7 separate regions of the Homo sapiens genome follow, and all the other regions are linked to region 7. The links are contacts of gene promoters, found by promoter capture Hi-C in blood cells and fetal thymus (Javierre and others, 2016). All regions are on one chromosome and are shown on one strand. The core of a region is centred on a gene start or on the middle of the fragment in contact, and the rest is flanking DNA. Distances in the headings are between cores, read along the strand shown. Region 1 overlaps B4GALT7 (beta-1,4-galactosyltransferase 7). Region 2 has its middle 8.6 kb from the start of MXD3. Region 3 holds the start of PDLIM7 (PDZ and LIM domain 7). Region 4 holds the start of PRR7 (proline rich 7, synaptic). Region 5 overlaps DBN1 (drebrin 1). Region 6 overlaps RGS14 (regulator of G protein signaling 14). Region 7 holds the start of RMND5B (required for meiotic nuclear division 5 homolog B).

Evidence for each region. Contacts are between HindIII fragments. The CHiCAGO score rates a contact against its expected background, and 5 or more counts as called.
Region 1: a fragment that was not itself captured here is called in contact with the fragment with the promoter of RMND5B in region 7 in 7 of 17 cell types (total CD4 T cells, naive CD4 T cells, naive CD8 T cells and 4 more); the score reaches 8.9 in total CD4 T cells.
Region 2: a contact is called between a fragment that was not itself captured here and the fragment with the promoter of RMND5B in region 7, in 1 of 17 cell types (naive B cells). The highest score is 5.6, in naive B cells.
Region 3: a contact is called between the fragment with the promoter of PDLIM7 here and the fragment with the promoter of RMND5B in region 7, in 4 of 17 cell types (erythroblasts, total B cells, megakaryocytes and 1 more). The highest score is 11.1, in erythroblasts.
Region 4: the fragment with the promoter of PRR7 here is called in contact with the fragment with the promoter of RMND5B in region 7 in 1 of 17 cell types (naive B cells); the score reaches 5.1 in naive B cells.
Region 5: a contact is called between a fragment that was not itself captured here and the fragment with the promoter of RMND5B in region 7, in 1 of 17 cell types (naive B cells). The highest score is 5.0, in naive B cells.
Region 6: a fragment that was not itself captured here is called in contact with the fragment with the promoter of RMND5B in region 7 in 1 of 17 cell types (naive B cells); the score reaches 5.3 in naive B cells.

The regions. Positions count from the first base shown.
Region 1 is chr5:177,609,556-177,613,022 of GRCh38, forward strand. B4GALT7 (beta-1,4-galactosyltransferase 7) reads left to right here. Exons shown (of 6, transcript NM_007255.3): 6 at 1-775. The coding sequence ends at 140. Among named protein-coding and RNA genes, the nearest start is that of B4GALT7, 11 kb to the left of the region's middle. The HindIII fragment of the contact is 576 bases long and covers 1,015-1,590 here.
Region 2 is chr5:177,318,883-177,322,030 of GRCh38, forward strand. No RefSeq gene overlaps it. Among named protein-coding and RNA genes, the nearest start is that of MXD3, 8.6 kb to the left of the region's middle. RefSeq lists enhancers at 1,056-1,557, 1,558-2,057. The HindIII fragment of the contact is 1,134 bases long and covers 1,299-2,432 here.
Region 3 is chr5:177,495,618-177,498,997 of GRCh38, forward strand. PDLIM7 (PDZ and LIM domain 7) reads right to left here and starts at 1,987. Exons shown (of 13, transcript NM_005451.5): 1 at 1,911-1,987; 2 at 800-906. The coding sequence starts at 895. RefSeq lists enhancers at 639-1,380, 2,593-2,642, 2,861-3,380 and silencers at 1,183-1,262, 1,673-2,382. The HindIII fragment of the contact is 22,050 bases long and covers 1-3,380 here.
Region 4 is chr5:177,444,619-177,448,102 of GRCh38, forward strand. PRR7 (proline rich 7, synaptic) reads left to right here and starts at 2,196. Exons shown (of 4, transcript NM_030567.5): 1 at 2,196-2,342. It overlaps PRR7-AS1 (PRR7 antisense RNA 1), which reads right to left and starts at 3,326. Exons shown (of 3, transcript NR_038916.1): 1 at 3,026-3,326. RefSeq lists a silencer at 1,821-2,910 and an enhancer at 2,853-3,481. The HindIII fragment of the contact is 1,481 bases long and covers 1,561-3,041 here.
Region 5 is chr5:177,466,079-177,469,438 of GRCh38, forward strand. It overlaps DBN1 (drebrin 1), which reads right to left. Exons shown (of 15, transcript NM_001363541.2): 2 at 2,766-2,821; 3 at 2,030-2,142; 4 at 1,665-1,739; 5 at 1,403-1,549; 6 at 1,177-1,254; 7 at 833-984; 8 at 694-757. Among named protein-coding and RNA genes, the nearest start is that of DBN1, 5.9 kb to the right of the region's middle. RefSeq lists enhancers at 1,022-1,567, 2,114-2,659, 2,660-3,205. The HindIII fragment of the contact is 2,300 bases long and covers 480-2,779 here.
Region 6 is chr5:177,369,021-177,372,103 of GRCh38, forward strand. RGS14 (regulator of G protein signaling 14) reads left to right here. Exons shown (of 15, transcript NM_006480.5): 10 at 1,571-1,644; 11 at 1,885-2,011; 12 at 2,145-2,226; 13 at 2,330-2,376; 14 at 2,455-2,569; 15 at 2,853-3,083. The coding sequence ends at 3,055. Among named protein-coding and RNA genes, the nearest start is that of RGS14, 13 kb to the left of the region's middle. RefSeq lists enhancers at 312-1,163, 712-781. The HindIII fragment of the contact is 3,760 bases long and covers 1-3,083 here.
Region 7 is chr5:178,129,500-178,132,663 of GRCh38, forward strand. RMND5B (required for meiotic nuclear division 5 homolog B) reads left to right here and starts at 1,515. Exons shown (of 11, transcript NM_022762.5): 1 at 1,515-1,555; 2 at 1,738-1,877. RefSeq lists enhancers at 37-688, 689-1,340, 2,619-3,148 and a silencer at 1,072-1,661. The HindIII fragment of the contact is 11,712 bases long and covers 1-3,164 here.

The sequences.
Region 1 (3,467 bases), core at 53-2,552, 520 kb before region 7:
ACAGGGAGGGAGGCCTGAACACTGTGAAGTACCATGTGGCTTCCCGCACTGCCCTGTCTGTGGGCGGGGCCCCCTGCACTGTCCTCAACATCATGTTGGACTGTGACAAGACCGCCACACCCTGGTGCACATTCAGCTGAGCTGGATGGACAGTGAGGAAGCCTGTACCTACAGGCCATATTGCTCAGGCTCAGGACAAGGCCTCAGGTCGTGGGCCCAGCTCTGACAGGATGTGGAGTGGCCAGGACCAAGACAGCAAGCTACGCAATTGCAGCCACCCGGCCGCCAAGGCAGGCTTGGGCTGGGCCAGGACACGTGGGGTGCCTGGGACGCTGCTTGCCATGCACAGTGATCAGAGAGAGGCTGGGGTGTGTCCTGTCCGGGACCCCCCCTGCCTTCCTGCTCACCCTACTCTGACCTCCTTCACGTGCCCAGGCCTGTGGGTAGTGGGGAGGGCTGAACAGGACAACCTCTCATCACCCCCACTTTTGTTCCTTCCTGCTGGGCTGCCTCGTGCAGAGACACAGTGTAGGGGCCATGCAGCTGGCGTAGGTGGCAGTTGGGCCTGGTGAGGGTTAGGACTTCAGAAACCAGAGCACAAGCCCCACAGAGGGGGAACAGCCAGCACCGCTCTAGCTGGTTGTTGCCATGCCGGAATGTGGGCCTAGTGTTGCCAGATCTTCTGATTTTTCGAAAGAAACTAGAATGCTGGATTCTTAAGTGATATCTTCTGATTTTTTAAATGATAGCACCTAAATGAAACTTTCAAAAAGTATGGCAGGCCAGACAAAATGTGTCGTGGACCGCTCACATGTCACTTTTGGCTGAGGGGCAAGGGGACGGGTGAGTTACAAGCTGGCAAGGAATTGGGGTGGGGCGGGGACGACAAGTCCAGGGGGGAGGAGAAGCCAAAGGTGTGAGGGTTCCTGTACTACCTCCACCCCACCAAGGCTTCTGGGCAGCCCCCGAATGCCCTTCTGAGCAGTCTTACCACCTTCAGGCTCTCTCTGGGTAAGCTTCCTCCGGCCTCACTGAGACACGGAGGAGGGAGAGTGGCTGAGGAGATTCACCCACAGGACTGGAGAGAGGCAGGCAGGGCACTCAGCCGGTGCCTCGGGTCATGGCTTGAGTGGGGAGGAGAAGGGGAGAAGTGGGAGGATCCCTGTGGTGTTCCCTCAGCACAGAGGGATTACAGTGGTCACTGAATGCCCAGGAGCAGTGAGAAGACATGAACTGGGGAGTGCTCTTGGGGGAATCACTTGGAGGGAAGCCCAGAGCCCATGAGAGTGGGAGGCAAGGGACCCTGCATGTAGGCCACTCCAAGGCATTTGGCTGCCAAAGATGCAAGGCAGAAGGCAGAGGAGACCATCAGGCCCCAGTAATGTGGGTTTGTTTTAACACCAGGACACCTGGAGTCCTGAAGGAAGGGATTCCTGAGCACCATCCCAGAGCTCAGGAAGGTGGAATCCACAGCTCTGGTTCAAAAGACTTCTCTGAGGATGATCAGGGCTGCTGTGTGCAGTTGTGTGGGTTGCGCACTGTGTAACCTGTGTATAAGCCGAGGGATTTAAGCAGAAAGGGCTGGGGTAAAGCTTCAGGTTCAGGTGTTTAGTCCAGGGTCTTTGTGATCCTAAATTGACCTTCCCCATCGATTCAGCCACACCCACTATTGTGATGGGCAGACAGGCCTCGACTCTAGTGCAGGGGTGGTGGAGAGGGGACTGTGCCAGTTCCCTGGACAATCCCAGCTGCTTCATCTTGGACTGACATGGACACCAGGCAGTAACACCAGCTCTTGGGAGTTGGTGGGAACAGGTGTAATATCAAAGCTCCCAGCTCTGCACTCTCCTGTCACATAGGAAGACCTCAGAAAATGGAGGTTCCTTCCTTTCCACCTGCACTGGGGGAGTGCAATGAGCAGAAGAAAAGCGAAGGTCCCTCCACCTTCTGAGATCAGCTGACACCTGAGCTTAGGTGCATCCCTAGCCCTGCAGCCTGTTGCTTCCCTTGACCGCCACCCCCACCTCCATCTTCAAGGCTGTGCTGGGCACTCCAGGCTGGGCCTGACGCGTTCCAAATCTGCAGCTCCCCTCACTCTGCATCCTGGGCCTCCACCACTCTCCAGGAGAGTGGGAGACGCCTGAGCCATGGGTGGCGAGAAGCGGCAGTCCTGTGCCGCCTCAGTGCCCCACTTGCCTCCTTCGTGGAATGGACTTGACATCCCTGCCTTGCTGGCCAGGGCGTGGCCGAAACCTACCCAGGATGTAGGAGCACCTGGCACAGCGCTTGGCCAGTGAGGCGGTGGTTGCAATAATAATAACCATCCCTTGTTGAACATTCACCAGATAACCAAATTCTCCACACCGCATTTCACTTAGGCCTCCCTACCTAAGAGCTGGGTCCTAATTCACTGGTTCTGTACATCAGGAAGGCAAAGCACAGACAGGCAAGTAGCTTGCCCAAGGTCGCAGAGCTGTAAGGGATGGGGGGCTGGGATTGGGAACCCCTGGAATCCACTTTCAGAGCCAGGTTTCTTCCCCTTTGCCCTGTACAGCAGGTGCCCATGAGCAGGTGTTCCTTCCCTACAGGCCTCCCTCCTCTCCCCTGCTGGAAAGGGCAGATGGGGAGGGCTGAGAGGAAAACAGGGGCATGGTGGAGATGCAGAGGATCTGCCTCAGGCTCCGCTGCCTCGAGGAAGACAGGGATTCTGCTGCTGGGTGCTGAGGAGCGCCGATGGGGCATTAGTGGGACCCAGAGTGTGGCACTGTAAATGAGAGCTGTGTGGAGTGCTTGGGGAAGGCTTCCCCGAGGAGGCAAAGTCTTGCTGGTGGAGAATTTGTCAGCAGGAAAGGGAAGGGATCATCATGTGCAAAGGCAGGCAGCCTGGAGCCAGCATGTGTGTCAGGTACCCAGGAGCAGCTGGAGTGTTCCTGGCACCCACGATACTGTGCAGAAGTGGGGAGGTGGGCAGCAGAGGGAAGGCTGGGGTGAGTCATGAGGATCTGTGAATGCCACACTAAGCAACTTGTACTTTATTCTAGGGGTGCAGGGGCTTTGAGAAGTTTCAAGCATGGGAGAACTTTTTTTGTTGTTCTTTTTGAGACAGGGCCTCTCTCACTCTGTGGCCAAGGCTCGAGTGCAGTGACGCGATCTCGGCTCACTGCAACCTCTGCCTCCCGGGTTCAAGATTCTCCTGCCTCAGCTTCCGGAGTAGCTGGGATTACAGGCATGTGGGACCACGCCTGGCTAATTTTTTGTATTTTCTTAGTAGAGAGATGGTTTCACTATGTTTGCAATCTGCCCGCCTCAGCCTCCCAGAGTGCTGGAATTATGTGTGTGAGCCCGGCCAGGGGAGAACTTTTGAACACTTACCTGTGTTCTATGACACAGATCCTTTGGGGGATAACAAAGATCCTTTGGGGGACCCAGGGTGGACTGCAGGGTGGAGTCTGAGGAAGGAGAGCACC
Region 2 (3,148 bases), core at 616-3,115, 810 kb before region 7:
CAAGCGGTTCTCCTGCCTCAGCCTCCCAAGTAACTGGGACTACAGGCACGTGCCACCACACCCGGCTAACTTTTTGTATTTTTAGTAGAGACAGGGTTTCACCGTGTTAGCCAGGATGATCTCGATCTCCTGACCTCATGATCCGCCCGCCTCAGCCTCCCAAAGTGCTGGGATTACAGGCGTGTGCCCCCACGCCTGACCATTTTTTTGTATTTTTGGTAGAGATGGGGTTTCACCATGTTGGTCAGCCTGGTCTCGAACTCCTGACCTCAGGTGATCCTCCCAAAGTGCTGGGATTACAGGCCGGCCTCCCTCTAACATTTTAAAATCTTCCAAACTAAGGTGAGTAAATCAGATTTGTTTAGGGCCCTTCAATAGTGGGGGACCAGCAGAAGCTCCCATCTGTCCACCCAAGGACTTCCAAGGGTGTTGGAGATGACCTTTGTTTTGACCCCATCAATGCCTACTTTATTCAGTCCATTTCATTAAGAACCCTTTAAAGATTCCATCCTGCTGGGATGAGTATCTTGACTCTTCCCTTTGTTTTCCCCACTCTCTTGTGAATCATTCTAACCATCTTCACTGTTGTTTCAGCATAATTTTCCCCCTCAAAAGTGGCCCTGGGAATAGCTGTAGCTCAGACCAGCCACAATCCAAGCTTGGCCCAATCTCAGGATCTGCCCTATCACCATCTTTTGCCTTCATTGTTGCTACAGAGAACAATAGGATGGTATATTTAGCTTGTTTCTAGTTACTTTGCATTTCCTTATACGTCCAGTGAACTAACTCCTTGGGAGTTGCATCCATCATTTCTAAAATTCATTATTAATTTTTGCCTCCACTAACTGATCACAGCACAGCTGCATTTCCATACCACAGTGAACTCATGGCCCTCCAGGAATCAAAGGTTCATCATACTCCATCCTCTCATCCAATTCCTAGAGATAGTAACTCACTCACTCACCTGCAAGCGTGCCGTGCCTTTCATATTCATACTAACCAATCCAGAGCCCATACCTTCCAACCACCTCCTTTACTGGGCTCTTACACGCTGCACCACTATCCCCCAGAGACTGGACAACTAGGGACATCCTACCCCAAACCCATTGAAATTATTCAAGCTAGGCAATCCTAGACCTGCTCACTCTGCCTCTCAGGTTCCTTCCTAAGCAAACCACAATAAAGGCTCTTGCCCCACAGTTCCCCTCCCTCCCTCTGCCCCCGACCAACACTGGTGCTTCCCCGTGTGGCCCGTGTTAGTGTGCGGTGCCGCCTGTTTCTAGGGAACTGTGAGTATAAGCTTCTTCCCACCATGGCAGTCATTTCTGTGTCTGTTACATCATATCTAAGGACAACAAATCCAAGGTGTCCTTACAACAACTGGCGCAGTGAGCAGGGTGGTTTGATGCCAGATGGAGATGGTATGTCCTCAAACTGCTCTTGGCTTACTAACTGGATCCACCAGGCAGTGGCCATTGCCTGGAAGGCAGCCCTGGTCATTTGTGCGCCCCCTTGATGGCTGGTGCACTGTGTGGTGTGTTGTGGGTGCTGCTGTGGATTCCCAACCTGAGGGCGGTGCTCGGGAAGCTGAGTCCTCCCGGAGCTGCTGCCCAGGCTAGAGTGTTCAGTGCCTGGGACTCAGGCCACAGGGCACTCGTCTTTCTCCGTGCTGGTGGAGCACCCAGACGCCAGAACAGAACACCTGGAGGTATACGGAAAACTGACCACATCGGTTTCTTGAAAAAGTCCTTCCATGGCCGGGCATGGTGGCTCACGCCTGTAATCCCAGCACTCTGGGAGGCCAAAGCAGGTGGATCACCTAAGGTCGGGAGTTTGATACCAGCCTGAGTAACATGGAGAAACCTCGTCTCTACTAAAAATACAAAATTAGCCGGGTGTGGTGGCACATGCCTGTAATCCCAGCTACTCGGGAGGCTGAGGCAGGAGAATCGCTTGAACCCAGGAGGCGGAGGTTGCAATGAGCCAAGACTGTGCCATTGCACTAAAGCCTAGGCAACAAGAGCAAGACTCCATCTCAAAAAAGAAAAGGAGAGAAAAGGTCCTTCCAAAGACAACAAGAGCAACTACCCTGCTAGCGTCATGGGATGAGTCTAACCCACTGACCAGGCAGCACTGGCAAGCGGTGGGGCCAGCCATGTCGGTCACTTGTATGCAAGTGCTCAGTGTCTGGGATGTTATATGCTCCAGCAGGCACTTGATAAACCACTTCCCCTTTTCCTTCTGGCCTTTGCTGAGTCAAAAGTTTCAGCCTGTTCTCTGGAGTATGGGAAGAGTACTCCACCTGAACGCCTGCATGTGTAGCGTAGGCTGTTCCCACGGTCAGTGTCAGGGTGTCCTCTTCAAGGGATCCGGGCACCCTGCAAATGTTCTTGTTCCAGCCACAAACCTCTCTTCCTTTAGCCAGGTCCTGAAGCTTTCCTCTTTTAGTGTGGGGCTTTCATTATGATTTATTCTTAAGTCCGAATGTTATTTGGTAGTATGTTTTTAGTTTCCAGATACAAAGGATTTTTTCAGTTATCTTTTGGTTGCTGATTTCCATTTATATTCTCCATATTCCTTTTTTTCTTTTCTTTTTTTTTTTTTTTTTTTTTTTTTTTGAGACAGAGCCTTACTCTGTTGCCCAGGCTGGAGTGCAGTGGCACGATCTCAGCTCACTGCAACCTCCGCCTCCCAGGTTCAAGTGATTCTCCTGCCTCAGCCTCCCGAGTAGCTGGGACTACAGGCACGCACCACCATGCCCGTCTAATTTTGTATTTTTTTAATTTTTTTTTTTTTTTCAGACAGAGTCTCGCTCTGTCACCAGGCTAGAGTGCAGTGGCACGATCTCGGCTCACTGCAACCTCTGCCTCCCAGGTTCAAGCCATTCTCCGGCTTCAGCCTCCCAAGTAGCTGGGACTACAGGCACACGCCACCACACCCAGCTAATTTTTTTGTATTTTTAGTAGAGACGGGGTTTCAACATGTTGGCCAAGATGGTCTCGATCTCAACTTCGTGATCCGCCTGCCTCGGCCTCCCAAAGTACTGGGATTACAGGCATGAGCCATCATGCCGGGCCCATTCTCTTTAAAAATCTCCTCTTTATAAATCTCTTTATAAATCTCCATCTCTGTGTTTCCTCCCAAGGTC
Region 3 (3,380 bases), core at 737-3,236, 630 kb before region 7:
CCTAGGCCAGCCCTTTTCAGCTCTGCAGACCGCAGCCACTGTTGGCCATCCCAGCGTGGGGCTGCATTCTTGGGCTTATAAGGCAATCCCCCTGCTACAGGGAGGAGCCAGCCTCCAGCTCCACCCACACCAGGGCAGGCTCTTGGAAGCTGAAGTTAAGCCCCTAGAATGGAGCCCTGTCCTACACTTCTGCTTGGGGTCAAAGGCCACCACATCCTGAATGGGAACAGTGGATGTGGGTCCTTACATAGGCTGGGGAGAGACCCCTTCTACCCACAAAAAATGTACGCCATGCTGTGCCTCAATTCCAATCCCTGCTTCACCATGGACTCGATGAGCGAGCCCCGCCACCTCTCCATGAGTTCTTCTCTCATCTGGAAAAACGGGATGAGGATTGCTATTCCCTGGGCGGCAGTGAGGCTGAAGTGAAATCCTATAGTCACAGTGTCCTGCCTGGGGCCTGGCTCCAAGCATTGCCACCTCAAGTTTAGATACCTCCTGAAATGTTAGGCTCCCATCCTGCACAATGAGCCTCCCTCCAGCCCTCAGAGGTGGCCACAGGAGCTTGGGAGAACAGCATCGGGTACAGTGCAGGGCTGGAGAAGCCTGGGTGCTCCCTCCCAGTATCCACCTCATTGGGAGTCCTTGTGGCAGGCAGGTACCACTACATCTCCGGACCTAGACATCTCCTGGCCTGCTGGCCCCTGACCAGCTCCTGTTAGGACTCCCCCCATCACCCTCTGGAGACCTAAGCACCGAAAGACCGCTGGGGGAGCCCCCTCCCCAAACCTAGGCTCACCCGGGAAATGGAGAGGGGCACATTGAAGTCCTTGCCCCCTTGCAGCCGGAAGCCCCAAGGTGCTGGCCCCTCCAGCACTACTTTGAAGGAATCCATGATGCCGGCTCCTGAGAGGAGAGAAGAGAAGGTGAGTGGCCAGCATGGTGGGCGGGCAGGCAGGCAGGCCGGGCCAGCTCAGGATACCAGCCTTGGACAGGGGCCAGGCAGGCACGGGCAGCCCCTGAGCACGCCCAAGCCATAGGAGGCAGGTATTTTGTCAGGCTGGCCTGGGCTGCTGGCTGGCGGACCTCACTTTGGAAAGACAGGAGCAGCCCCCCTCCCCTTGGGACTGGAACGGTGAGGGGTGCCTGAATCCAGGCTTGAGGTTCTTTGCAACCAGGGGTGGGCCGAGGGACTAAACTGGCGCGGCCTCCCCCCAAGCCAGCCTGGAGCCTCGGGCGGCCGGGTGAGTCAGGGGCCGGCTCTCCTCTCCCCCGCCCCCAGGTCCCGGCAGGCAGGCCGCGGCTGGAGCCTGCTCGGACTATATAAGGCGTGTAAGCTGACACTGTGCGGAGAGCCAGCGGAGGGAGCACACGGGGGCTTGGGACGCGAGGGGGGGGGGAGGGGAGGGGAGGGGAGGGGAGGGGAGGGAGGCGGCTGCAGCGGATCCTCCTAGCCATTCCGGGACCAGTCGAGGCTGCTGGGAGCCAGGGCGGGACCCCTGGGTGCTGAAGAAGGGGAAGGCGGGAGTGGGGTGCGGCCCCTGTGGAGACAGATGGGGGCTGGGACCCTCAAGCATAGCTTGGAGGGGGATCCTTCCCCGAGCCCAGTGGGGGGTGGTGCCTCCCACACAGAACTGCTCCCACACCGACGTGACTCAGTTTCCCCTTAGTCCCCCGCCCGGGCCCCATGCATTAGACTGGCCCCGGCCGCAGGAAGCGGCGCAGGCGCCAATCGGCCCCGCCGCAGCCGGCTTAGCGGCAGGAAGGCGGGGGCGGGGGCGGAGGCAGGGGCCAGGGCCAGCGGGAGGAAGCACAGCCTGGACCACGACCCCCAGTGCCCTTTGTGGTCCTCAGCAGGCCCCGGGCGCCCGCCTGGTGCAGCCCAAGACGCCCCGCGCGGTCGTCGATACCTGCTTGGCCCGGCCAGGGCGCTGCTCTGCGTCGGGCTCCAGGGAGCCTCGTTGGGATCGGCCGCCAGTGTTCTGACCCCGCCCCCACAGCCACCCTCCACTTTGAGCGCGCGGACGGGGGCGGGGCACCAGGCCACGCCCTCGTCGCGACCACGCCCACTAGACTTTCTCCGCTGGTGGAAAGCCCCACCCAGCTCTTCCGTCCTGCCCAATCACCAAGTCCCGTCGGGCTTAGAGCTGAGAGGCCTCGCCGACCCGGGCCCTGCAACGGGGCGGAGTCGGGAGGGGGCCGGGGCTGCGGGTCGCCTCCTTAGGGAAGCGCTGCCTCGCCCAGTCCCTCGCACCGCCCGCTGGCGGAGGGAGAGGAAAGCGGACCTTCAAACCAGACCGACCTGGGACATAGTAGTCTCTGAACCTTAGTTTGCTACTCCGAAAAATGGGACGATCATACTCGCCTCGCAGGGCTGCCGCGAGTGTCGGTATCGTAGGCGCAACCCTCGGGGACTGCAGAATCTGTAAATCAGAGGGGCTGGGGGAGACAAGTTGAGGGGGACAGGGGCGTTTAAAGCTAGAGTTGCGCAACGCTCTGCCGAAGGCAGGAAAACAGGGCAGGAGCGGACGCCGGATGTCCCTGCAACCCCGAGCCGACCCGCGCACCGTCGGAAGCGCCGCGTCCCGCTCCACCTTGGCCAGAGCGGACTGCGCCGCCTGGGAGGCGTCCTCAGAGTCCCGGCCCCGCGTTCAGCCCAGGCACTAGGGCCGGCGGCACGGACACTGAGCACATGCGGGTGTCGGGGTGAGGGAAGGGGCGTCCACCCTCCACTCGCTTGGTGGTCCCGGCCCATCACCTCCTCCTAGGACAGAGTCGCTGCAGTTCTCCCCTCTCCATCCACAGTCATCACACCCACCCTGTTCTGCACAAACCGCCGTGAGAGTTCTCGTCGTTAAAGACCTTCTCTTGACCCCACATCCCTCTCCAGCTACTACCCTTTAATTCTCCTCTCGAGAGTAAAATTCCTCCAGGGAGTTGTCTGTTTATCGCGTCTCCACTTGCTTTCCTTCAGTTATCTCTTGAAGCCATGCCAGGCGGGCTCTTGTCCGCACCCGTCCCCTGAGATCTCTCTTCTCAAGGTCCCCTGTGGCCTGGAGGCCATGGGGCCATGGAATCCGTGGTGGTTAAGTTTCATCCTGCCCTGCCTAGGGGCAGCACTGGTCCAGGTTGATCCTTTTCCGCGAAACACCCTTTTTCCCTGGCTTCACAGCTTCCCCCTGCCCCACTGGCCCCTCCTTCCCATCCTCCTCTGCCTCTGGCCTTGGCCATCTGATGTCGCCTCTCTTTATGCTCACCCCCTGAGACCCCGTACTGTCCTGTGGCTTTCAACACCACCTATATGCAAAGGCATCCCATGTTTCATGGCCAGCCTGACCTCTCCCCAGGAACTCTAACTCCATTATCCAAAACCCTGCCTA
Region 4 (3,484 bases), core at 946-3,445, 680 kb before region 7:
TGACAGGGTTGGGGGTGGGGCAGCACCAAACAGGGAGGCCCCTTGACCCTGAAGGTGTCAGAATTGGTGCCCTCCAGGACACAGGGTCAGATGTACCCAAGTAGAGGAGCCAGATGGATGGTCTAGGGCTTTAGTGGTTTAGGATGGCTGAGCATGGGAGGCCAGGGGTGGAAGCAAGGAATGGCTGGAGCTGAAGTCAGTGAGACACAGCCAGCTTTGAAAGCTAGATTAAGGATCACAGGGTTAAGGCCCAGATGGGGCCTCATCTGGAAGGTAGGGGATTCCCTGAAGGGTTTTTACTGGTTGTGTTGGGGTGTTTGCTCCAGCATGTACAAAAGCACCCCCAGTCTCTGTCCATGTGGTTTAGACGGGGCTGGGCTTGCACCCCCTGCACACGCATACTCCACACACATACCTAGAGTGAGAGAGCCAGGTGGGAATGTTGCAAGTGACAGAACTGTCCTCCCGCTAACTTAGAAGGTGTTCCAAGGATATGGAGGAGCTTCGGGGTCTTAGTTGTGGGCTCCATTCTCATCAGGAGACACCCACCAGAACCAAGATGATAGAGCCATTTGGTTTTGCCTCTTTGAGCCCAGTTGCAAACTCAAGGAGTCTGAGTGGCCAGGCTGGATACCTGCCTGCTGTGCACTGTCAGGGAGCAGGGCACTTGGGTTCACAGTTTCACCAGGATGGCACCCGTGGGGCAGTGATTCCCCCATTGAAATCAGGGTGCCTGTATACAAAGAAAAGGGAGCGGGTACTGGGAGGCCATTCCCTTTGCATAAGGAGCACATATCCTCTCCCTTAACACACAGGCACTTAGATTGGTTCACTGATAGAGACTCAGCCCAAATGAGTCCAAAAAGAATCATTCATGGAGTTGTTTGCTTGTATTTTGCTCAAATGATGGGGAAGGAATTGGGGTTCCGTTTTCCTCCAGGGATAGATGGCAGGATATGAGCCTAGGGCTGTTGGGGTTGTCCTCGCTACTTCTTGGGGTGAGCTTGCCTGAGAGTGATGCAAACAGAAGCAGATACGTGCCTGACACCATTGCGGGAACACCTGGAAGCAACTGTGACCAAAGCTAGAATCTACCCTGGGACTTGCCAGTTGCATGAACCAGTCCCCTTTGAGCTCAAAGCTTTTTCTTTTCTTTCTCTTTTTCTTTCTTTTCTTTCTTTCCTTTCTTCTTTCTTTCTCTTTTATTTTTCTTTCTTTCTGTCCTTTCTCTTTCTTCTTTCTCTTTTTTTTTTTGAGACAGGGTCTCACCCCCTCCCTTAGGCTGGAGTGCGGTGGCGTGATCTCGGCTCACTGCAACCTCTGCCTCCCGGATTCAAGCGATTCTCCACAGGCGTGCAGATTTTTTTTTTTTTTTGGTAGAGACGGGGTACAGCTCAAACCTATTTGTTTGGGAGTTCTGTCACTTCAACCCCAAATGTTCCAGCTAATATGGTGGTGGAGGGGTTTTTGGCAAATCATCTTAAGTGCAGTAGAGAAGTTGGACGAAAAACAGCCCAGTTAAGAGGCCGATGGACAGCCAACTTCAGAGTGGCCTCTGCAAGCTTGGACCTCGGGGTAGACAGTGGGGCGCTCTCTAGGGGTCATCTGTTCCCTGCTGGGGTAGGGGGGAGGCATGTCCACGGAGGCCAGGGCTGTGGGTTCGGCACTAGGTCCTCCTCCCCGTGGCTTCCTAGTAGGCATGTGGTGGTGTACGCCTGCTGGGCACCTAGCGAGAGGGGTCGTGAGTTGGGAGGGAGCCACGTTGGGGTGCCTGCCTGCTCGGGGGCCCCTGCCCACTGCGTGTGCGCAGCGCCTGTCAGGATGTGACGGGGACCTGGACATGTGTGTGCTCTCCGAGCTGAGCTGTGTGCGCGTCCGGGTTCTCGACCTCAGCTGCCTGGCTGTGCATCCAGCGTGCACGACCGGTGTGGCCTGGGCTCCAGCCTGGAGTGTGGACCGGGTCGGCCGGCGTGTGCCTCCCCTGTGAGGGTGCCCTGGCGGGTGTGAGCCCGGCGGGCTGGAGAACCGGGTCTCGGCGCCGCAGGTGGGTGACCGTCCTCCCCCTCCTTCCCTCCGGGGGCAGCCTCCTCGCGGCGTGTGGCTGGGGGTGCGGGGCCCTCTGCCGGCTGCCGCGCGCGCGCACGCCGGGCTCAGCACCCGCCGTGTACGCGCCCGTGCGCGCGCCCCGCGCCTCCAGCCCAGCGCTCGGAGCCGCTTTCGCTGCCACTGTCTGCTCCCCCGGGCCGCCGCCGCCTCCCCCCGCAGGCCCGGGGCTCTGTCCGCTGGGCCCGCGCTGCTCGCCCCGAGCCAGGAGAACGAGCTCGAGGAGGATGCCTGGGCCCGTGAGTACCGCGGCGGCTGCGGGCCGGGCGGGCACGGAGCGCGGGCGGAAGATGGTCCCAGGACTGAGCCCTTCCCCGCGGGCGGCTCAGCGCCCTGGCCCCGGGTCGCCGCCCCGGTCCCCCGCCCGGGCCGCGAGCAGCCCCTCCCCCAGTCCACACCGGAGGGAGGGAGAGCGCCAGTGAGCGAGGGAGCCGGAACGGGGCGCGAGCCGCCACCAGTTCGCTTGGAAACGGTTGCCACAGCAACGGGGTTGCGCTCCCCGGCAACACGACTGCGGGGCGGCGACGCCCCCTCCCCCTCCCTCCCCCCTCCCCCGACGCGGGCCCACAGCCCGGGGGTGCAGGGGGAGAGGGGTGCGCGGCGGGGGCATGTCGCCCCTCTGGCCCGGCTGGGTGTGCCTGCCTCCACAGCCCGTCGAGGGTGGGGGTGGGGGCGAACGGCCGTGGGCACGAGCTGGCTCCCACGTGGCTGCAGTCGTCGCAGCAGGGCTCCTGGGGTGGCTGCAAACGTGGGGGCGGCCCAGCCCCTGGGCTTGTCACGGGAGGAGGAGGCATGGAGGCTGGCGCTGGGGTCTTTGCCCATAGACCCCCCACCCACCCACCCACCGCCGCCACCACCTAATCGCGCCGGCCCTGGACATGGCCTGAGCCGAGCTGGGTTCCCCAGGGGCGACGTTTCTTACCAGGGTAGAGGAGCGAAGCTTGCATCCCTCCTCCTCCTCACGGCCGAGGCACGTGCCAAACCGGGCATGGGCCCGCGGTGAGTCTCTGCTCCGTGTTCCTAGCCACCATTCTCCAGGGAGGGGTGGAAGCAGAGTGGGCAGGAGCAGAGGAAAGGATATTGCTGACCCAGGGAAGCTGAAGCCCAGGCCAAATGGGAGCGACCCAGCCCATTGTCTGGATCACAAGTGCCCCTTTCTTGTCTGAGCACAATGCCCCAACTGTACTGAGTAGCATGCAGGTTGGCCGGCAGGGAGGCACGCGCCACATGGAGGTGCCTGGTCCGCCAGGGGAGCTCCTCTGGGAGGAGAATGGCCTCTGACTCAGAGGAAATGACCTCTGGCTCCCCTCCCAACCTCCCCTCAGCGGGCATCATGCTGGAGAGAGAAATGGCCCTCCTGCCAGCTCTCCCAGGCCTGACT
Region 5 (3,360 bases), core at 380-2,879, 660 kb before region 7:
CCTCCTGTGGGTGACTCCGGAGCCCGTTTGAGTCCCCACAGCCATGCATCTGCCCATTACAGTCCCAATCCAGATGAGTATCAACCCACCTCCCTTCCTGAACTGAGCCATGCTCAGTCCTGAATGACATTAGCTATTTCCAAAATACTAAATTCAAAGCATGGAGATGTGACTCTGCTGTGATTCTCAGGGACCAATCCACAGGACCTACGGGCCATTCCCAATGTGTGGAGATTCAGACAGTACCCCTGGAACAAAGGGGCTGCTCCCAGGGAGATGCTGCTCCCAAGGAGATGGTACACACTGCCTGCAGATGCTCAGCACTGGCCCAGGCTCACCCATGCCGCCTGCCTCACTCCTGTGGCCCCTCAGAGTGCAGAACAGTGTCTAATCGCCGAGAAACCCCAGGGCAGGGGAGGGGGAGCCTGGTCAGTGAGGGTCTGGGTCTAGATGGAGTTTCTCTTCCAATCTAGAGCACAAGCTTCTCCAAAGTAGTCTTTTTCCACGGCCAGAGGCCAGAGCCCCACGTGATGAGGTGCCAGGCCTCATGCTCCATGGCACCCTGTGCCCATGCAGCTCCCCAGAACAGCCACCACTGTCCCTGAGCCACTGATCTCCCCACAAGGCCCAGGAACACAGGGACCATTCTCACTTCCCTGACCCAGAGACCGGGAGCCTTGGCAAAGAACTTACAAAGATAGACTGCTCCTTCAACCGCCTCTTGGCCTCTTCCGCTTCTAAAGTCTGCTGTTTCCTCCTGGAACGATAAGCAGCCAGCACCCGTCAGGGTGCGCCCGGGGGCCCCTGGAGCGCTCCGGGCGGGCAGGCTCACCTGTGCTCCTCGATCTGCTGCTCCCGCTCCCGGTAGCGCCGCTCGCGCTCCTCTTGCTCCTGCCGCTCCTGCTCCATCCGCTCCTGCTCGAACCTGAGCCTCTCATCCAGGGCCTTCTTCCGCTCCTCCTCCTTCCGCAGCTCTTCTTCCTTCTGCAAGCCCCGGTGCGAACAAGGGTAGGCCCCGAGCCTAGGCGCCTGGACCCTGCCCCTCCAGCCCCTCCCTAACCCAGCGCTGGGGGCGGGGCACGTGGCATGGGCCATGCCACTGCAGTGAGGGACTCAGACCTGCCCCATGGGGTCCATGAGGGGTGGCTCAGCCAGGCCGGGCTCAGGGTTCCATACCTTGGCCTGCTCCCAGAACTGCTCTCGGTTAATCCGCTTCATTTCCACAGCTGCATCCGTCTTCTGGTAGGTGGTGCCCTGCAGTGTCGAAGGACCCAGCATAAGCAGGCTGAATGCCCCAGGAACCCCCGACACCTAAAGGGTGAGAGCTAAGAGGGACCGGGCAGGCCAGACTCGGGCACCAGGCCACGCAGGCAGAGCCCACGGGTGCCAAACACACACTAACCACGGGCTCTGCGTTCTCATCCTCTCGCAGCCGCAGTCGGTGCAGCACAGGGCTGGAGAGTCGCGCCAGCCCGTTAGAGAGCCGCTGCCCGATGGCACCCGCGTCTATGTCTTCCACGCTGCTGGCGTTCACGATCACGTCGACACCCTTCCGCAAGAAGACGGCAGTGCTCAGGCGGCACCATCCTCCCGCCATCCCCACCCCAGCACGCAGACCCTGGTGGCTGTCCCCACCCCCAAGAGCGCTGGCCCCTGACACGCACCTGGAAGAACTCCGCCACCTTAGCCACGTGGCTGGCACAAGCGCACTTGCGGGCATCAGGCACATCTTCGCCCACCTGCAAAGTACCCAGCAAAGAGGGGGTCAGGAAAGGACAAGGGGGGCCCTACACGATAGGGTGCATCTTCCCCGGGGTGGGAAGAGGGTGGGCTTCCCTCTCCACGGGTGTCAGAGGGCCGACGGGGAGGGCGACTGCTCTGGGCCTTCAGTTCCCTTCCCCAGCCCCGGCCGCATACCCAGTTGATGAGCAGCTCTGGGCCCTCAGCCCCCTTCCCCAGCCCCGGCCGCATACCCAGTTGATGAGCAGCTCTGGGCCCTCAGCCCCCTTCCCCAGCCCCGGCCGCATACCCAGTTGATGAGCACGTATTTTGGCAGAGCAGCTTGGGAGTCCTTGACACTGCAGAAGCCGTACATCACCTTCTGGTTCTCAAAGTGTCCCGAAAGCTCCTGCAAGCCCCCTTCTAGGGTAATCAGGAGAGTGTCAGGTCTCTCTGCCTCCTAAACCCTTCCCAAAAAGAGCCTGGAACTCAAAGCAAAGACTCCTCCAGGCCTCCACAGGCACCCCCAGGGGTCTTCTGGCCTCTGGGGTCTGTGGGTCCCAGTTTTGTGTTGGTATGTGTGGGGGTGGTGGCGCACAGGGATGTAGCTTTGCCTGTGACTCCTGCAGGGCCTGATTTGGGGGTAGGACTGAGGAAGTGTTTGTTCTTCACACTCAGGTCTCATTCTTCACACATCATCATGTCTCACCAGGTGCCAGTGCCCAGAGGCACAATCAAGCCTTCTGGCTCTGGGGAAGGCGGTGAATAGGGCCCTTCCCCCAAAGTGTCCCAGCTGTGTGGCTTCAGATAAGTCACTTTCCCTGTTGGAGGCTCAGCCTCAGAAGTCCAACATTCAACAAGGCTCTGAGATTCCTCCCCACCCTGGGGACACAGGGATGACTGGAGGAAGGACACCCGCCAGATCCAGACAAGTGTGGGGCTGCAGGGTGCAGGCAGGGAGGTGGCCTACAGCCAGGTGGGTGGGGAAGAAAACAACCAGGAGGAGGGGGTGGAGAAGGCGGCGAGGGAATGGCTGGAATTCCTACCTCCTGATGCTGCAAGCTTGAGGTCATCGGAGCCATCTTCATATGTGTACAGAGCCCTGGGGAGAGGGAGGGGTGGCTGTCAAACTGTCAGGGCCCAGGCCGCCAATTCTGGGTGGGGACGGCTCTGGGGAGGGAGAGGGACATGGAGTGGGTAGGACAGGAACGGGGAGGGCTCCTGCTGTAGCCATGACAACAGGGCCAGGCATCGGTTCAGGCGGGAGCCCAGCAGGGTACTGCTGGAGGCCTGGGTCAGGGGGGCGCAGGCAGTGAGGGGAGAAATTGCTGGCTGGTCGAGCTCAGTGCGCAGCATCCCGGCCCTGGCCCTGGCAGCCTACAACCCAGTGGAGCGGGTGTGTGATGGAGATTCCAAGGCGACGGTTCCTTGGTTACCGTTCCCTGGCTACCAGGATCCTCATCCCCCATTGGCTAGTGCCAGGAACTTACCTGGCACGTGCCTTGGTCCCCGCTGCCCCTCCCCCGGGGAGGGAGGAGGAGAAGAGAGAACCTGGTGCTCCCAACAGCTCTGGGCATCCCCCAGTAACCATGGCAACCCTGCAATTGGCACACGACTGGCCCACCCCAACTGCATTCTCCT
Region 6 (3,083 bases), core at 248-2,747, 760 kb before region 7:
TCTAAACCCAACTCCAAAGCACCCTCAGCACCAACTTTCACTCACTCAGACATCCACCCACCCCCCACCTCATGTCCTTCCAGGTTTCCACCTTCATCCATCATCCTATTGTGGTGACCTTAGGGAGGTAAAACTGGAGAGAACCACTGTTGGAGCTGGGGTTTGCCCCTCATCATTCCCAGAGTCCAGACTCCCATCCCCACAGACCCATCCTGGAAATGGCCATCCGTGGGGTGCCCTCACCTCCTTAGCCTCTAGGGGCACCCAAGTGCACCTAACCAATGAACTTTTTCCTTTAGGTGCAAACTAGCTTAAACTTTAAAGAAGACCTAGGGGAAAACTGGCTTTAAAGGAAACCATTCAGTCAGGGGAATCTCAAGGAAGAATGCTACCTTCCAGGGGGCCATCGGGATTTCATTTACCTAGTAGACAAGTCCTAAGGCCTTGCCAGGTGTGTGGGGGAGAGGAACCTAGATCTGGGGCTGTCCTCCTGGCCCACAGGCTGAAAGTAAGCCAAGCAGGGAGTGATCAGGGAGGAGGAAGAGTGAAAACTCCAGAGAAGGTCTCTTGGGAGAGGGTAGGCATTTCTGGCTGGTGTCCGGAAGGCTTCATGGAAGAAGCAGCAGTAGATGTGGATGGGCAGAGCTGTGGGGGAGGATATTCCAGGCAGAGGGAACAGCTTAGGCAAAGGCCTGCAGGTGGGTACTTGCGGGGCATGTTCAGGGGCCTGGAGTGCAGGGGTGCGAGGGCAGTAGTGGGAGGCATTTTGCCCACTCTTCTCAGGCCGCTAGGGCGGCTGCCAGCAGCCCAGATGGGCTTTCATACATGCTAAATATAACTTCCTCACCCACACTCCACCTGCTCCTGCAGCACAGCATAAGCCTACTGCCTGGGAGATGCTGCCCCCAACCCCCACATCAGGCTGGAGCAGGCAGTGGGGCCTCTGAAGGTGGTCATCACGAGAGTTACTGTTTATGTACCTACTGTGTGCCAGGCATTGTGCCAGATGCTTCACATCCTCTGGTTTCACAGCAGTTTTGAGGGTGGGCCCTTTTTGAATGAGGAAACAAGAAGTGTCCTTAGTAGCGGGGAATGGAGAGAAGTGGACAAATGTCAAAAATGGGACCAGGCCAGGGTGGTTGGTCAAAGGTGGGTGGTGAGGGAGGAAATGCTTCCAGCTGGTCTGGTCGGATTTCACACACCTGAGGGACACGAGACAGCTGTCCTGGAGGCAGAGCCTGTCCTGGCACAGAAAGAGTAGGCCAGAGATCCCGGATCTAGGCCTGCCCCTTATCATTTCATGCCAGCAGCTACGTTTCTCGTAATTTCTGTCCTTTCCCAAGAATGTCCAGCATTCTTGCCACTTTTCTCCCTGGCCTTGGCTTTCCTGGGCTTGGACTCCAGCTTGGTACCTTAACCCATTTGCTCCCCTACAGCTCTTCCACCCTCCATCCCTTCCTCTAGGAAGCCCAGTGGTGGCCATGGGAGGGCGTGAAGTTGTTCTCAGACCCACAGGGATGGCTGGGGGTTGGGGGAGGGACTCTTAGACCCTGCCTGGCATCCACAGAAGGCCCTGGTCCTGGATCAGGACTGCACCGTGCTGGCGGATCAGGAAGTGCGGCTGGAAAACAGGATCACCTTCGAGTGAGTGTCCTGCCCCCAAGTCTGGGTCCCAGGTCCTGACGCTCCCTTCAGGCCCTGTTCTAGCTACCTGGCTCCCCAGGCCCCGCCCCTCGTGCTAGCCCCGCCCCTGGGACAAACCCCGCCCCCTACAAGCCAGTCCCACCTTCTGCAGTTCAAGCTCCACCCCCTCGCGTTTGTCCTGGGAAGGGTTTGGCGGGGGGCCGGCCCTCCGGCCCTCTGCTGCCCGAGGGTTCCTCGCAGGCTGGAGCTGACGGCGCTGGAGCGCGTGGTACGAATCTCAGCCAAGCCCACCAAGCGGCTGCAGGAGGCGCTGCAGCCCATTCTGGAGAAGCACGGCTTGAGCCCGCTAGAGGTGGTGCTGCACCGGGTGAGCTTCCGGGCCGCGGGGCGGGGCGGGGCGGGGCCGGGCCGGGGCCGGGGCCGGGGCCGGGGCCGGGGCCGGGGCCGGGGCCGGGGCCGGGCGGAGGCCTGTACCGCGGGCTGCTGACCTCTCCCCACAGCCAGGCGAGAAACAGCCTCTGGATCTGGGGAAGCTAGTGAGCTCGGTGGCGGCCCAGAGACTGGTTTTGGACACTCTTCCAGGTAGGGGACGCTGGCCTCGGGGCTTGATCTGGAACAGCTGTGGCCCAGGAGGAAGGGGGTCCAGGTGGGAGGCAAACACTAACTGTGGCCCTCTCTGCTGCAGGTGTGAAGATCTCCAAAGCCCGTGACAAATCTCCCTGCCGCAGCCAGGTGAGCGAAAGGCGAGTGGCCTCTTCCACCCTCTGCTTCTCCCCTCCCGATTTTGGCTCTGACCCCAAATTCTCGCAGGGCTGCCCACCTAGAACTCAGGATAAGGCCACCCATCCCCCTCCAGCGTCCCCCAGTTCTCTGGTGAAGGTGCCCAGTAGTGCCACTGGAAAGCGGCAGACCTGTGACATCGAAGGTACATGGTGGATGAGCTGGGGATCAGAAAGACTAGGGCAGTGGGGTTGGGGACCATTCAGGGTGGCATCAGAGAGCCTTGAGCTAAGGCAGGGGGCTGGGTGCCACTGGGCGTGGAACAGGAAGGATGGGGGTTGGGGGGTCAAAGGGGCTGGAACAGGGGGCCGCAGGCCATTGGTGCTGGGGCCAGGGAGGCAGTGGCCACAGTAAGGCAGTGGGACTATCGTGGGCTGGCATATAGGCAGGTCTGCTGGGGGGACCCTCATGCTGTGGCTTGCCTCCAGGCCTGGTGGAGCTGCTGAACCGGGTGCAGAGCAGCGGGGCCCACGACCAGAGGGGCCTTCTGAGGAAAGAGGACCTGGTACTTCCAGAATTTCTGCAGCTGCCCGCCCAAGGGCCCAGCTCCGAGGAGACCCCACCACAGACCAAATCAGCAGCCCAGCCCATCGGGGGATCCTTGAACTCCACCACCGACTCAGCCCTCTGACAGCTACCCAACAGTCCAGGACAGCTGC
Region 7 (3,164 bases), core at 265-2,764:
CCATCTTCTCCCCTTCCCCCGTTCCCCAGGACAGCGACCAACACAGGGCGGCAGGGTAGGGCTGGACCCCCTCCTCCGCAGAACTGAATTCTGTTGAATACCCAGTGGGCAGATTAAGTTCGGGCTAAGGGGACCAGAAAGGCTGGGACAGGAAAGGAGTTTTCTTTTCTTTTCTTTTTTTTTTTTTTGAGACGGAGTCTCGCTCTGTCGCCTAGGCTGGAGTGCAATGGCGCGATCTCGGCTCACTGCAACCTCCGCCTCTCGGGTTCAAACGATTCTCCTGCCTCAGTCTCCCGAGTAGCTAGGATCATGGGACTACAGGCGCCTGCCACCATTCCCGGCTAATTTTTGTATTTTTAGTACAGACGGGGTTTCACCATATTGGACAGGCTGGTCTCGAACTCCTGACCTTATGTTCCGCCCGCCTCAGCCTCCCAAAGTGCTGGGATTACAGGCGTGAGCCGCCCGGCCCGGAGTTTTCTATTCTTTTTTTTTGAGACGGAGTCTCGCTCTGTCGCCCAGGCTGGAGTGCAGTGGCGCCGTCTCGGCTCACTCCGAGCTCCGCCTCCCGGGTTCACGACATTCTCCTGCCTCAGCCTCCCGAGTGGCTGGGACTACAGGCGCCCCCCACCTCGCCCGGCCAATTTTTTGTATTTTTAGTAGAGACGGGGTTTCACCGTGTTAGCCAGGATGGTCTCGATCTCCTGACCTCCTGATCCGCCCGCCTCGGCCTCCCAAAGTGCTGGGATTACAGGCGTGAGCCGCCGCGCCCGGCCTGGAGTTTTCTTTTTTTTTTTAAGCATCACTTCATATTTCAAGAGCTCTCAGTTCTCCTGAGATTTCTAGGCTCTGTCCAGGATCCCTAAGCCTGTTCACAGTCCTACTTGAAGTTTCTAATCTTTCTTTTCTCATTAACCAAAACTGGAGAGAGGAAAAAGCCCATCATTTTCCCTGGACAGCAGCGCCTACTGGGAGTTTCACCCGCATTAACATGCAAACGACAGGCAAACTCCTAGTCATCCTTCCAAAGACCCTGCTCCACAGCCCTGCCGAGGCCGGTGCGCACCTAGCCCAGCCACTGCCCCTCACGGCCCCCGCGCCGCCCTCACTGAGCAGGGCGGGCAGCGCTGTAAGCGTAACCACTTGGGGCTTGGGGCTTCTGACCCGGGAGTCGGGTGCTGGGTTGAGTGCGAGGCCGACGCCTCTGCCGGGTGGGGAACCCGCCCGCCGGCGAGGAGCGGTCGCGGCCAGGGGCTTCCGCCGACTGGGAGGCCCGGGGCCGGGCCGGAGGGACTCGGAACCTGGAAACGACCAGGCGCGACCCCCAGAGGACTACAGGCGCGGCTTTTCTGGCCGCCGCCCGGTTCCCGCGGGCGACTCCACTCGGCATGCGCGGCGGGGAGCCTCGGCGGTGAGGCGCAAAGCCGCGGGCTCGTGGGACGGCCACCCCTCCGCAAAACCGCCAATGGGCGGGCCCGGGCCGCCGATCGCCCGCCGCGGCTTCCGGTTCCGATGACAGTGGCGCCGGAAGCCGGGGCCGGGGCTGCGGGGCGAGGTGAGAGCGGGCGGGCTTGGGAGCCGGCAGGTGCGGGCCGAGGGCGGGCACAGCGGCCGGCGGAGCTGAGGCGCGCGGCGGGGAAAGCTCGGCCGGCCTCCCGGGCCCCAGCCTTCTCCAGAACCCCTGCTACCCACGACTAAGCCCCGAACAATCTGCCCTTGGGCTTGTTCTCTTCGCAGTTGTCGGCCCTGGGCCGGGAGCTGGAGTCCCAGACTCATAGGTCCCGGCCCAGCCCCCGAAGAGCCGCCTCAGCCGGGGGGAGTTGCTCGGACTCAAACGTCCAGTCCTCGTGCGACCGCGCTGGGTCGGAAGTGAGCAGGTGCGCACCGGGCTCGGCAGGGCTATGGAGCAGGGTCTTTGGAAGGATGACTAGGAGTTTGCCTGTCGTTTGCATGTTAATGCGGGTGAAACTCCCAGTAGGCGCTGCTGTCCAGGGAAAATGATGGGCTTTTTCCTCCCTCCAGTTTTGGTTAATGAGAAAAGAAAGATTAGAAACTTCAAGTAGGACTGTATAGTAAAAAAAAAAAAAAAATGGAGGAGGGCGATATGACACGGTAACTGGTGTGAGGGTGGGGCGGAGGGGTCAGTATTAGATACTGTGGTCTAGCAGAGCATCTCTGAGGACGGGACATTTGCGTTGAGACCCAAATTAGGAGGCAGGCTTAGGAAGATACGGGAAGAGAGTGGTCCAGGCAGCGGGAACAGCCAGTGTGAAGGCCCTAGGGCAGAAATCAACTGAGAGTATAGTCAAGGAACAGAAAGCAAGCTAGTGTGGCTAAAGTATGGTAAGAAAGGGAAAGAGTGGTAGGAGATGAGGTCGGATAATTGGGGTTTGGTCACATAGAGTCTGTAGGTCAGAGAGAGGAATGTGGAGTTTTTTCTAAGTACAGTGGAAATCTTTTGGTTTTAAGCAGAGGAGTGACATGTAGGGTAGAGAGTGGATGGAGGTCGCGGCTGCAAAAGCATAAGAATTGGCTGGGCACGGTGGTTCACGCCCGTAATTCCAGCACTTTGGGAGGCTGAGACTGGCAGACGGCTTGAGCTCAGCACTTCAAGACCAACCTGGCCAACATGGTGAAACCCTGTCGCTCCAAAAAATTAGGCTGGGCGCAGTGGCTCACGCTTGTAACCCCAGCACTTTGGGAGGCCAAGGCGGGAGGATCACTTGAGGCCAGGAGTTCAAGACCAGCCTGGCCAACATGGTGAAACCCCGTCTCTACTAAAAATACAAAATTTAGCCGGGTGTGGTGGCAGGTGTCTGTAATTCCAGCTACTTGGGAGGCTGAGGCAGGAGAATCGCTTGAAACTGGGAAGCAAAGGTTGCAATGAGCCAAGATCGTGCCACTGTACTCCAGCCTGGGCGACAGAGTAAGACTCTGTCTCAAAAACAAACAACAAAAAAATTAGCCAGGTGTGGTGGGGAGAGAGGGGAAGAATAGGGACAAAAGGGAATACATAAATAAACACAAAGGAGAAAAGGCCCTGCATGGACCACTTACATGTGTCATGAACTCAGGAGTGTTCATGGTGGGACTACATGGTGCACCTGTAGTCCCAGCTTCTTGGGGTGGGGGGCTGAGGTGGGAGGATCACTTGAGCCCAGGAG